2 separate regions of the Homo sapiens genome follow, and region 2 is linked to region 1. Evidence: promoter capture Hi-C in 16 types of primary human blood cells and fetal thymus (Javierre and others, 2016). All regions are on one chromosome and are shown on one strand. Each heading gives the region's core, a stretch centred on a gene start or on the middle of the fragment in contact. The rest is flanking DNA. Distances are from core to core; before and after follow the strand shown.

Evidence for each region. Contacts are between HindIII fragments. The CHiCAGO score rates a contact against its expected background, and 5 or more counts as called.
Region 2: a contact is called between a fragment that was not itself captured here and the fragment with the promoter of PROC in region 1, in 1 of 17 cell types (neutrophils). The highest score is 5.7, in neutrophils.

Annotation. Positions count from the first base shown.
Region 1 is chr2:127,413,394-127,419,717 of GRCh38, reverse strand. It overlaps PROC (protein C, inactivator of coagulation factors Va and VIIIa), which reads right to left and starts at 1,291. Exons shown (of 9, transcript NM_000312.4): 1 at 1,226-1,291. RefSeq lists enhancers at 3,128-3,187, 3,568-4,330. The HindIII fragment of the contact is 16,432 bases long and covers 1-3,053 here.
Region 2 is chr2:127,685,729-127,691,279 of GRCh38, reverse strand. No RefSeq gene overlaps it. Among named protein-coding and RNA genes, the nearest start is that of LIMS2, 13 kb to the right of the region's middle. The HindIII fragment of the contact is 6,533 bases long and covers 1-4,747 here.

The DNA of each region.
Region 1 (6,324 bases), core at 42-2,541:
CCTAGAAAGCAGCTCCAGAATGCAGTGGAGAGGGTGCCAGGATGTTTGTGTCCTCCCTGGGGACAGTGGGGTGGCTGCCTCTGCCGGTCTGATGACTGGGCTGAGAATATTAGCTAACGTTGATTGGACACTCATGGTGTCTTTCAAACAATTTTTACAGGATTCACAGGGCAGGCCATGAAGCCAGACTGCACGGTGCAAATTCCAGCTCCAGCACTTACTGGAGGGCAATGTTGGGCAAGATGCTTAACTGCTCCATGCCTCAGTTTCCTCATTTGTAAAATGGATGGAATAACGTGGTGTATCTGTGCCTTAAAGGGTGTTGTGAGAATTAAAGGAGTTAGTCCACATAAAGCTCTCAAAACAGGCTTTGCACATAGCTCATGCTCAGTAAACATGAGATATTATGACTTCAGTTAAGGCTCACAACCACCCAAGAGGTAGTTATTAATGCTGTCAACCCCATTTCATAGAGGGGGAAACTGAGACTCGGAGGAGTTAAGTGGTTTATTAAAAATCCAACCCTTGCTGGTCTCCGTTGATTGCACAGGGAAGTCACCAACCCAGGGGATCGATCAGATTCTGTCCCCCATCCTCCAGGAGTAGGGTCTCACACCATCAGTACACTGCAGGCACCAGACTCGGAAGACTGAGGCAAGGTCCTGGGTCTCCATGTTTACATCCATGCATTACTCGCAGAGCCAGGACTCAAGGCCAGGCCTGTGTGGTTTTAGGCCTGGAAATTCAACCCCTGCCCCAAACCACCAGGTGCTCCAAAAGGCCACAGAGATAGCCCTGGTGGCCAGAGATCAAGGAACCCTCCCCAGTGGATAGGCCACGTGGCCCTCTGCACACCCTACCGGACCCTGCTCTCCATTCTTGCCGACTCCCTCTGAGGCCACTTCTGAGATTTGTTCAAATCCGACACCCCCAAAGGTGGAAGTGGGGTGGGGAGAATGGAGGGTCCTGGGCTCCAAACTGTCTGTTGGAATGGCCCTGGGCCCTGGGGACCCTTGGCCTGGAAAGAGGGAGGCGCATGGCAAAGGGACCTGAGACTGTGGCTGCCAGGCCTGGCCTGTGGAGGGCCTTGTGTCCTTTCACCCCAAGCTCAGGCTTGTTGAGCACCCTGGCTGGAGGATTCAGCCCTCATCACCACCTAGCTCTCTTCTCCCGGGGGCAGCCCTCCCTCCACACCCCTCATAGACCTGCCTGGAGGGGGACTCACAGGGGCGGGTCGTGGAGATACTGCAAGTTCGCCGTCCTGCCGCCATGACAGCCTGGAGTTCGAGTTAATCCATAACCACAAATATTTGCTTGGCCCTCAGCACTGAGGCCTCCCTCTCCATAGACAAACAGTGGCACTAGCACTCCTGGTCCTAGCTCAGCACGGCTTGTTCTGCCCGAAGCCCACCTCTGCCCACCAAGGATGCCGTCCAGCAGGGAGGGAGGTGAGGGCAAAACCCTTGACAGATGTGGTCTCATTTTAGCCCCATAGTGGCTGGCTGAGGGAGGAACGTTGTCCCTGTTTTTCAGATGGGGACATTTTTGCCCAGAGATATTATAGTTTGCCCAAGATCAGCACAACAGGTAATATTCCATATTTCGTCAAATCTAAAATACCATTAATTATAAGACACATGTATTTATGTGCCACCATACAAGAAAAAAGACGCTGTCCCAATGACATGCCATCCCAATTTCTGATACATAAAATCATGAGAAGATGCTCCTTTTTGGGTCCCCAGTGCATAGGTGCTGGGCACTGGGCTCCACCCTCACCTCCAATTGCTCACAAATCACCCCCAATCCCCACCCCCAACACACACACACAATGGCACATAGCATCCCTCTAACCTCTATTTTTCAGGTAAGGACACTCAAGTTTTGTGTTACTCGCCCAGATTCACTGAGCTGGTAGTTGGCAGATTTAATTTGAACTCAGGTCTTGCTGCTTCCATTTGGCCCCTTTTGTGGACCAGTAAGAAAAATGAACGGGATTCCAGAAAGGCTGCAGCAATTTCCTGGCCGGGGTGCCAGAAGGGAGAAGGGCAGAAATAAAGGGTCCAGCTCAGCACCTTTGCCTGTGTCCTGCAGTCTATCAGCATTTATTAAGCGTCTTCCTGCTCCGAACCGGGCTGCACCAGAGATGCCCCCCTTTCCTCCCTGCCCTACCTGTTCCTGGGAAGACTTGCCCACGTTCCTTCTCCAAGTCTGCACCTCTAAACGGGGCATGTGACCCTGCCTCGCTGGCTTCCATTGATTGCACAGGGAAGTCACCAACCCAGGGGATTGATCAGAGGAGTAGGGTCTCACACTGTCAGTACACCATAAGTACCAGACTCGGAAGATTGAGGCCAGGTCCTGGGCATCCATGTTTACGCTTAAAGCAGAGGAAGCTGATGAGAAGGAAGATGCAGGTGTGCAGAGGGGGACTGAGGCCACGGACACCTAGAGAGTCCCAGGGAGCAGCGGAAGGAGGCCCCTGCCTCCTTATGATTGGTGGCACATCCTGGCTTCGGGTGCAGGAGGGTCCCCATGCCCTCCTAAAACCCTATTCCTCCTGAAGTTTCTTTAAATTGGCTGGAACAGCTTGTGTTGATTGTAACCAGATGCCTCCTGCTGAGGCACCACACCATGCTGGGCTGTGGTGGTACCAGGCCCTCCTAGAGGAACAGGGTAAAACTCTAACACTCTAACAAGTCAGGCCCACCTTGCCCAGGGGCAGGTACACATAGGAAATGCTTACAGAATTCAGAGGAGAGGGCAATCAGTACAAGCTGGCATAGCCAGGGGAGGCTGCCTGTAGGAGGTGACACTTCAGCTGGACATCAAAGAGCAGACAGGAGGAAAGACATCCCCCCCAACCCCACCCCAGGTTGGGAGACAGTGGGGAGACACAGAACACAAGCAGTCAGGAGGTGCTAGGAGGGGTGGAGGTGGAGAGGAGGTGGAGGGTGAGGCAATGGATTTTGAAATCGAGACTATGAGAAGTGGAGAACCAGGAGCTGTTTGTGACAGGCTGTGGCAGCTGCCTAGAAAAGCAGAGACAAGCTTCTGGGAACTCAGACAGGAAGCATGAAGACCCCATGCACAACCACAGAAGGCACCAGCTTGTATGTCCCTGTTTGCTTCAGGCGTCGCCCCCGCAAGTCTGCAGAGATCACTGCCCTCTGCTTTGCCTTCCAGGTGCAAGATGTTGTGGGTATTCTTTTGGCGCCGCTTCCCTTCCCCACCAACTTCTCGCCCTCTACTCCTCCCCACCCCAGCACAGGCAGCCGCTCCAGGGCAAGTCTATGCAGGCTCCACACACTGATTCTGACCTGCATAAATGGACTCTGCCCGGGGCACCCATGTCCAAACCAGCCCAGGTGCCCAAAGCACCGGCACCGGTACGAGCCAGGGCGGCTGCAATGCTCCCAAGTGCCCAGTGCTGGGGGTTGGGGGTGCCACGGCTTGGCAGGCTGCCCAGAGGGCGGAAGGGTCCTCTGCAGAGCTCTGCACGCCTGTCGGCCGACGGGGACTCTGCACGGCGGGCTGCGTCACGGCCGCCTCATCGGCTGGCAGCGCAGGAAACCCCGTCACCTTCTCGAGGTAGGGACAGTCCTGCCGCCAGCCGTTCCTGCGATCCCAGGGTCTCTGCAGTTACACCTGGTTCCAGCCGGGGGCGCCGCGCCGCACCGCTCCTGCGGAGGAGCCAGGCGCCCTTCACAGGCGCGGCCTCACCCGCTTTACTTGTCAGGTGTGAGTCGCCCCACGTGCACCCGAACGCGGTCAGGTCCACCCAGGAAGCCGGAGCAGGACTTTGGGCAGCGAGCTCGCTGTGAGTTAGAGAGCAGAGGGACACCTGTGGCTAAGGAATTCGCTGCATGGATGAAGACCCAAGCAAAGGAGCTAGAACCAAATGTGTGTGGGGCAAGGCCAGCCACAACTACCGGAGCAGGCGGGGTTCCAAAGCCCTCAGCTCTGGAGTCACGTTCCCACGGCCTTAAACCTCCGCTAGCCTTTTTCTGACAGGGGGATTTAACTTCCCTGTGTCTCAATGTCCACATTTGTAAAATGGGGTCAGCGTCCGTCTCAGGTGACTGTTATAAGGGTCACGTTAAATCTTTTATTAATTTTTTAATTAAAAAAGTTTTGAAACAGGGTCTCTCTGGCTCTGTCACCCAGGCTGGAGTGCAGTGGCGGGATCACAGCTCTCTGCGGCCTAGATCTCCTGGGCTCAAGCGATTCTTCTGTTTCAGCCACCTCAGTAGCTGGGATCACAGGCCCGTGCCACCACGCCCAGCTGATTTTTAAAAATTTTTAGGAGAGAGGAGGTCTTGCTGTGTTGCTCTAGAACTCCTGACCTCAAGTGATCCTCCCTCCTCAGCCTGCCAAAGTGCTGAGATTACAGGCGGGAGCCACTGTGCCTGGCCTTATTTTTAAGTATTTTATACAAAGTGGACATGGCCTGGGACTTAACAGGACTTCCCACAGGCCTGGGAAGGTCAGGGAGGGGCCGACTAGGAGGGGAAGGGGTCAAGGACAGCTGCTGCTGTGTGGAAGCTCAGACTGCACAGATCCGTTGTACAGATTAGGGCTGATCATTCAGTCAGCCCTAACCTGTACAACACTCCCCACCCCTTGCGTTTTGGCCCTGGCTCTGCCAATAGATGCCAGAAACCCAACTTGAGCTCACTCTGCTGAACAGTGATGAGAGATGGGCTGGTGGTCAGGGCTGACGGGACTAAGGTTCCTTCTCACCCCATGCCACTCCCCTGTGTGGGCATTGCCCATTCTCCATTCTCTCTGCAGGGACGCTGTGCTGCTCAGCCCACCCCAGGCAGGGCAGGGAGGACAGACACTAGAGAGGCTCCCGGGAGCTCCCTGGTAAGAAGTGGAGTGGGATGGATGCAGTCCAACGTCTCTCTCTTTTGTTGTTGTCAGGTTATTGTGGTATAATTTACACACAGGGAAACTCACACTTTAAAAATGTACAGTTCTGCTTGTTTTGACAAATGTATGTTATAGTGCATCCACCACCACATCATGATATACACATTTTCATCACCCTCAGAAATTCTGTGTTCCACCCCAACTCTTGGCAACCACTGATTGGATTTCTATCTCTATAATCTGCATTTTCTAGAATAGCATATAAAGGGAATCCTACAGCACATATATATATTTTTTTGAGTTGGTGTCTTGCTCTCTTGCCCAGGCTGGAGTGCAGTGGTGTGATCTCAGCTCGCTGCAATCTCCACCTCCTGGGTTCAAGTGATTCTCCTGCCTCAGCCTCCTGAGTAGCTGGAATTACAGGCACACGCCACCACACCTGCCTAATTTTTGTATTTTTTAGTTTCACCATGTTGGCCAGGCTAGTCTTGAATTCCTGACCGCAAGTGATCCGCCCACCTCAGCCTCCCAAAGTGCTGGGATTATAGGCGTGAGCCACCGTGCCCAACCAGTACATAGCTTTTTAAGACTACCTTCTTTCACTCAGCATAAAGCTTTTGAGATTTATTCATGTGGAATTCTATATCAGTACTTTATTTCTTTTTATTGCTGACTGGGCTCCATTATATAGATGTGCCACAATCTGTTATCCATTTGCCAGTTCTTGGCTATCATTAAATTAAGCTGCTAGAACATTTATGTATAGGTCCTTGTGTGGGCATATGTTTTCATTTCTCTTGGGTAATATCTAGGAATAAGATTGCTGAGTCATGTGGTGAGTACGTGTTTACTTTTGGGAAAAAAAAATAAAGTCAAACTTTTCCAGAGTGGTGGTGGCATTTTGCATTCCCACCAAGCAATGTCTGAGTGTTCCTGTTGCTCTGCATCCTCACCAGCATTTGGTGTTGTCGGTTGTTTTTTAATTTTAATTTTCAATTTTTAGCCTTCTTAATAGATGTGTAGTGGTATCTCATTGTAGCTTTAATTTTCATTTCCCTCTTCTCTGGTGATTTTGAGCATCTTTTCCTGTGCTAATTTGCTATTTATATCTTCTTTGGTGAAGTGCCAGTTTAAGTCTTTGGGCTGTTTTTTGTTTGTTTCTTTGTTTTTGAGGGTTTTTTAAATTGAGTTTTTAGAATTTGTATGTATCCTAGTAACAAGCCCTTTGTCAGCTAAGTATTTTGCAAAAATTTCCTCTCAGTCTGTGACTTGTCTTTTATACTTAACAGTGTCTTTTAATGAACAGATGTTTGTAATTTTGATGAAGTCCAATTATCAACATTTTCTTTTATGATTCGTGCTTTTGTGTCCTACCAAAGAACACTGCCTTATTCAAGGTCACAAAGGCTTTCTCTTATGTTTTCTTCTAGAAGCTTTATGGTTTTTCAC
Region 2 (5,551 bases), core at 232-2,731, 270 kb before region 1:
GTGGCACTCTGAACTTGAGAGTGATGATTTAGGGTATCTGGTGGAAGAAATTTTTAAGCTGCAAAGTGTTTACGGATTGGCCTGGCTGCTTCTAACAACCTACGCTCATATGTGTGAGCAAAGAAATGACCTGAACCTGGAACTTATATTTAAAAGGGAAGCAGAGTGTAAAAGTTTGGAAAATTTGTAGCCTGGCCATGTGGTAGAAAAGAAAAGCTAATTTTCGGGGGAGGAATTCAAGCAGGCTGCAGAAATTTGCATAAGTAAAGAGGAGCCCAAGTGCTAATAGCCAAGACAATGGGGAAAAGGTCTAGAAGGCATTTCAGAGACCTTCGTGGCAGCCCCTCCCAGCACAGGCCTGGATGCTTCAGAGGACTGAATGGTTTTCTAGGTCAGGCCCAGGGCCCTGCTGCCCTGCACAGCCTTGAGACTCTACTCCCTGCATCCCAGCTGCTCCAGCTCCAGCTGGCTGAAAGGGGCCCTGGCCACTGTTTCAGAGGGTGCAAGCCATTAAACTTGGCAACTTTCATGTGGTGTTAAGCCTGCAGGTGCACAGAATGCAAGAGTTTAGGCTTGGGAGCCTCTGCCTAAATTTCAGAGGATGTATGGAAATGCCTGGATGTTCAGGCAGAAACCTGCTGCAGGGGCAAAGCCCTCATACAGAACCTCTACTAAGGCAGTGTGGAAATGTGGGGTTGGAGCCCCCACACAGACTCCCCACTGGGGGACTACCTAGTGGAGCTGTGAGATGAGGACCTCTGTCTTCCAGACCTCAGAATGGTAGATCCACTGGCTGCTTGCATCCTGCACCTGGAAAAGCCACAGGCACTCAAGACCATCCCTTGAGAGCAGCCATGTGGGCTGAACCCTGCAAAGCCACAGGGGGAGAGCTTCCCAAGGCCTTGGGAGCCCAGCTCTCACACTAGTGTCCCCTGGATGTGGGGCATGGTGTCAAATGAGATTATTTTGGACCTTTAAGATTGAACGACTACCCTGCTGGGTTTTGAACTTGCATGGGGCCTGAAGCCCCTTTCTTTTGGCTGATTTCTCCCTTTTGGAATGGGAGTATTTAACCAATGACTGTACCCCCATTGGAAGTAACTAACTTGTTTTTGATTTTACAGGCTCATAGGTGGAAGGAACTTGCCTTGTCTCAGATGAGATTTTGGACTTTTGAGTTAATGCTGGAATAAGTTAACACTTTGTGAGACTGCATGATTATATTTTGAAATATCAGAAGGACATGAGATTTGGGAGGGGCCGGCGGCAAAATGATATGGTTTGTGTCCCCACCCAAATCTCGTGTTAAATTATAATTCCCAGTGTTAGAGGTGGGGCCTGGTGGGAGGTGACTGGATCATGGGGGCAGTTTCCAGTGGTTTAGCACCATCCTCCTTAGTCATAATAGTGAGTTCTCATAAAATCTGGTCATTTACAAGTCTGGGCCAGGCACAGTGACTCACACCTGTAATCCCAGCACTTTGGGGGGCTAAGGGGGGGCAGATCACCTGAGGCCAGGAGTTCAAGACCAGCCTGGCCAACATGGTGAAACCCTGTCTTTACTAAAAACACAAAAATTAGTTGAGTATGGTGGTGGGTGCCTGTAATCCCAGCTACTTGGAAGGCTGAGGCAGGAGAATTACTTGAACCTGGGAGGCAGAGGTTGCAGTGAGCAGAGATTGCACCACTGCACTCCAGCCTAGGCCAGAGTGAGACTCCAGCTCAAAAAAAAAAAAAAAAGTAGCACCTCCCTGCTCCTTCTCTTTTCCTTCTGCTCTGGCCATGTAAGATGTGCCTGTTTCTCCTTCACCTTCTGCCATGAGTATAAGTTTCCTAAGGCCTCCCCAGAAGCCAAGCAGATGCTGCCACACTTCCTGTACAGCCTGCAGAACTGTGAGCCAATTAAATCTCCTTTCTTTATAAATTACCCAGTCTCAGGTATTTCTTTATAGCAATGTAAAAATGGACTAATACACATAAGAATAATGGAGAGAAGTGAGAGAAAGGGACATAAAAATTATTAGAAGGCACAATGGCTGAAAATTTCCCCAAATTATTTGCTTATTTATTTAAAATTTATTAATATTATCATGTTTATAGAAAGAGTCTTGCTCTGTCACCCAGCCTGGAAGGCAGTGGCACAAGCATAGCTCACTCTAACTTTGACTCCCTGGGCTCAAGCATTCTTCCTGCCTCAACCTCCCAAGTAGCTAGGACTACAGGCATGCACCCCAATGCTCAGCTAATTTTCAAGTTTTTTGTAAAGACAGGGTCTTGCTGTATTTCCTAGGCTGGTCTTGAACTCCTAGCCTCAAATGATCATCCCACTTCAGCCTCCTAAAGTCCTGAGCTTACTCATCACCTAAAGGCAAGAGCCACTGTGCCTGACCAATTTCCCCAACTTTGATGAAAAACATTATTCTAAACATCTGAGAAACAATGAATTTCAAGTAGGATGAACACAAAGGCATTCACACTCAGACATATTATAGTCAAATTTTGAAAGCCAAAGATAAAGATAAAATCTTAAATGCAGCAAAAGGAATACAATTCATTGTGTACCAGTAGTACAATAATATTGACAAATGATGTCTCATCAGAAGCAATGGGGGCTAGAAAGCCGTGGTATGACATGTTCAAAGTGCTTAACAGTAAAAACAAAACAACAACAAAAAACCTGTTAACCAATAATTCCATACCCAACAAAACTATCTTTCAACAATAATGGCAAAATAAAAAGCACTCCAAAATAAATAAAATCTGACTGAATTTATTGCTACCAGTCCTGAGTAACAAGAAATATTTAAGGTTTTTCAGATAGAAAGCAAGTGACACCAGAAACTAATTTGAATCCACATGAAAAACAAAAGTGTTGGTAAAAGTAGATAATTACAATATAAAGTATAATTGCATATTTCTTCTTCTCCTCTTAACTGATCTAAAAAGTAATTGCATAAGAAAATATGCATGTAACTTTTTATGGGCTATGCACATATAGGAATGTAATATGTGTCAACATTTTGTCAAAATGTTATTTAACAGTAACAGCACAAAGGAGATGGATGAAAAATTACAGCCAACATCTCTTATGAATATACACAAAAATCCTCAACTAATTACTAGCAGCCTAATCCAGCAACATATACAAAGGATTATATACCACATTGAAGTGGGATTTATCCCAGGAATGCAAGGTTGGTATAATATATTAACATCAATCACTGTAATACACTACATTAATACACTGAAGGACAAAACTCATATGGACATTTCAACAGACATAGAAAAAGCATTTGACAAAATTCACCACTATTTTTTTTTTTTTTGAGATGGAGTCTCACTCTGTCATCCAGGCTGGAGTGCAGTGGCACGATCTTGGCTCACTGCAACCTCTGCCTCCCAGGTTCAAGCGATCATCATGCTTTAGCCTCCCGAGTAGCTGGGACTACAAGCATGCGCCACCATGCCCAGCTAATTTTTGTATTTTTAGTAGAGATGGGGTTTCACCATGTTGGCCAGGCTGGTCTCAAACTCTTGACCTTGTGATCTGCCTGCCTTGGCCACCCAAAGTGCTGAGATTATAGACATGAGCCACCATGCCTGGCCCACCACTCTTTCATGATAAAACAAACAAATGAAAACAAGAACAGAAGAGGACTTCTACCAACAATGGAAGAGAGCTTCCTCCTCAACACTGTAAAGGGGTTTATGAAAAACCCACAGCTAAAATCATATATATATATTTTGAGACAAAGTCTCACTCTGTAGCCCAGGCTTGGAGTGCAGTGTTGCTATCCTGGCTCACTGCAGCCTTGACTTCCTGGGCCCAAGTGATCCTCCCCCCTCAGCCTCCGAAGTAGCTGGGACTACAGACAGGCGCATGCCACCATGCTTTGCTAATTTTTTTTTTTTTTTAATTTTTGTAGAGACAGGATCTCCTTATGTTGCCTATGCTGGTCTTGAACTCCCGGACTCAAGTAATCCTTCTGCCTCGGCTTCCGAAAGTGCTGAGATTACAGGTGTGAGTCACCATGTGTGTCCTAAAATCATGTTTAATGATGAAAGACTGTATGCTTTCAGCCTATGATCAGGAAGATGACAAGGATGTCTGCTCTTTCCACTTCTGGTTTCTAGCCAGGGACAATAGGCAAGAAAAAGAAAAGGCATCAAGACTGGAAGAAATGAAGTAACACTACCCTCTATTTGCAGATGACATGGTCTTGTGTATAGAATAGTCTAAGGAATTTCCAAGAAAGCTCTGGAATTAACAAGTACAGTAGGATTTTAGGATACAAGATTAATATGCAAAATTTATTTGTGTTTCTATATGCCAGCAGTCATAATCTGAAAAGGAAATTAAGAGAACAATTGCATTTGCAATCATATCAAAAGGAGTAAAATACTTAGGAATAATTTATCTAAATGAGCACAAGACTTACACACACTGAAAACCACAAAACATTGTTCAGTAGAATTAAGGAAGATCTAAATAAATGGAAAGACATCCTATGTTAATGGATAAGAACACTCCTTATAGTCACACTCACTCCCGTACTGCAACCATTCCCAGTCTCTGGCAACCACTAATCTATTTGTCATCTCTATAATTTTGTCATTTGAAGGATATTATATGAGTAGAATCATACAGTATGTGATCTTTGCAGGTTGCTTTTTTTCACTCAGCATAATGCCCTTGAGATATATCCGAGTCGTTGCGTGTATCTTACCCTGCCTTGTTATGTAAGCTTTGAATATTTTTTAGAATTCCGTTTTTACTTATCTATACTGTTTTGGGGGTATATCTCTTTGTATAGGTTTTTTTGTGGTTGTTCTAAAAAGCCATACATATATAACTTATGCACAGCCTACTGGTGGCAGCATATTACCAGTTCAAATAAAGTGTAGAAAACTTACCTCCTGTTAATTCCCTGTATTAGTCAGGAGTCTCCAGAGAAATGGAACCAATAAGATATGCATATATATAAATACAAAAGGAGATTTATCATGAGGAATTGGCTTGTATGACTATGGAGGCCAAGATGTCCCATGATCTGCCACCTGCAAGGGGAAAATTCAAGAAAGATGGTATAATTCAGGCTGAGTCAGAAAGGCTGAGAACCAGGGGAGCTGATGGTATAAACCCCAATGCAAGGGCAAGAAAAGATGAGATGAGACATCCCAGCTCAAGCAGGCAAGAAGGAAAAAGGGTGAATTCCTCCTTCCTCTGCCTTTTGTTCTGTACAAGTCTTCAGTGGATTGGATGGTGCCCACCCACGCTGGGGAGGGCAGTGTACTTTGCTGAGTGAGTCCACAGATTCAAATGCTAACCTCACCCAGAAACACAGCAGCAGACACAGCAGAAACAATGTTTAATCTGGGCAGACAACGGCCTGTCAAGTTGAGACGTAAAATTAGCCAGCACAGTTAATCCATCTCCCTCCCCCATGTATAATCCTCCTAAATATTTCTTTCCTGGCCCACGATAGTTTCATCACACACACATGCTTATCAGCATTCAGTGGAATACTTGGGGGAACCCTCTAGAGATCTG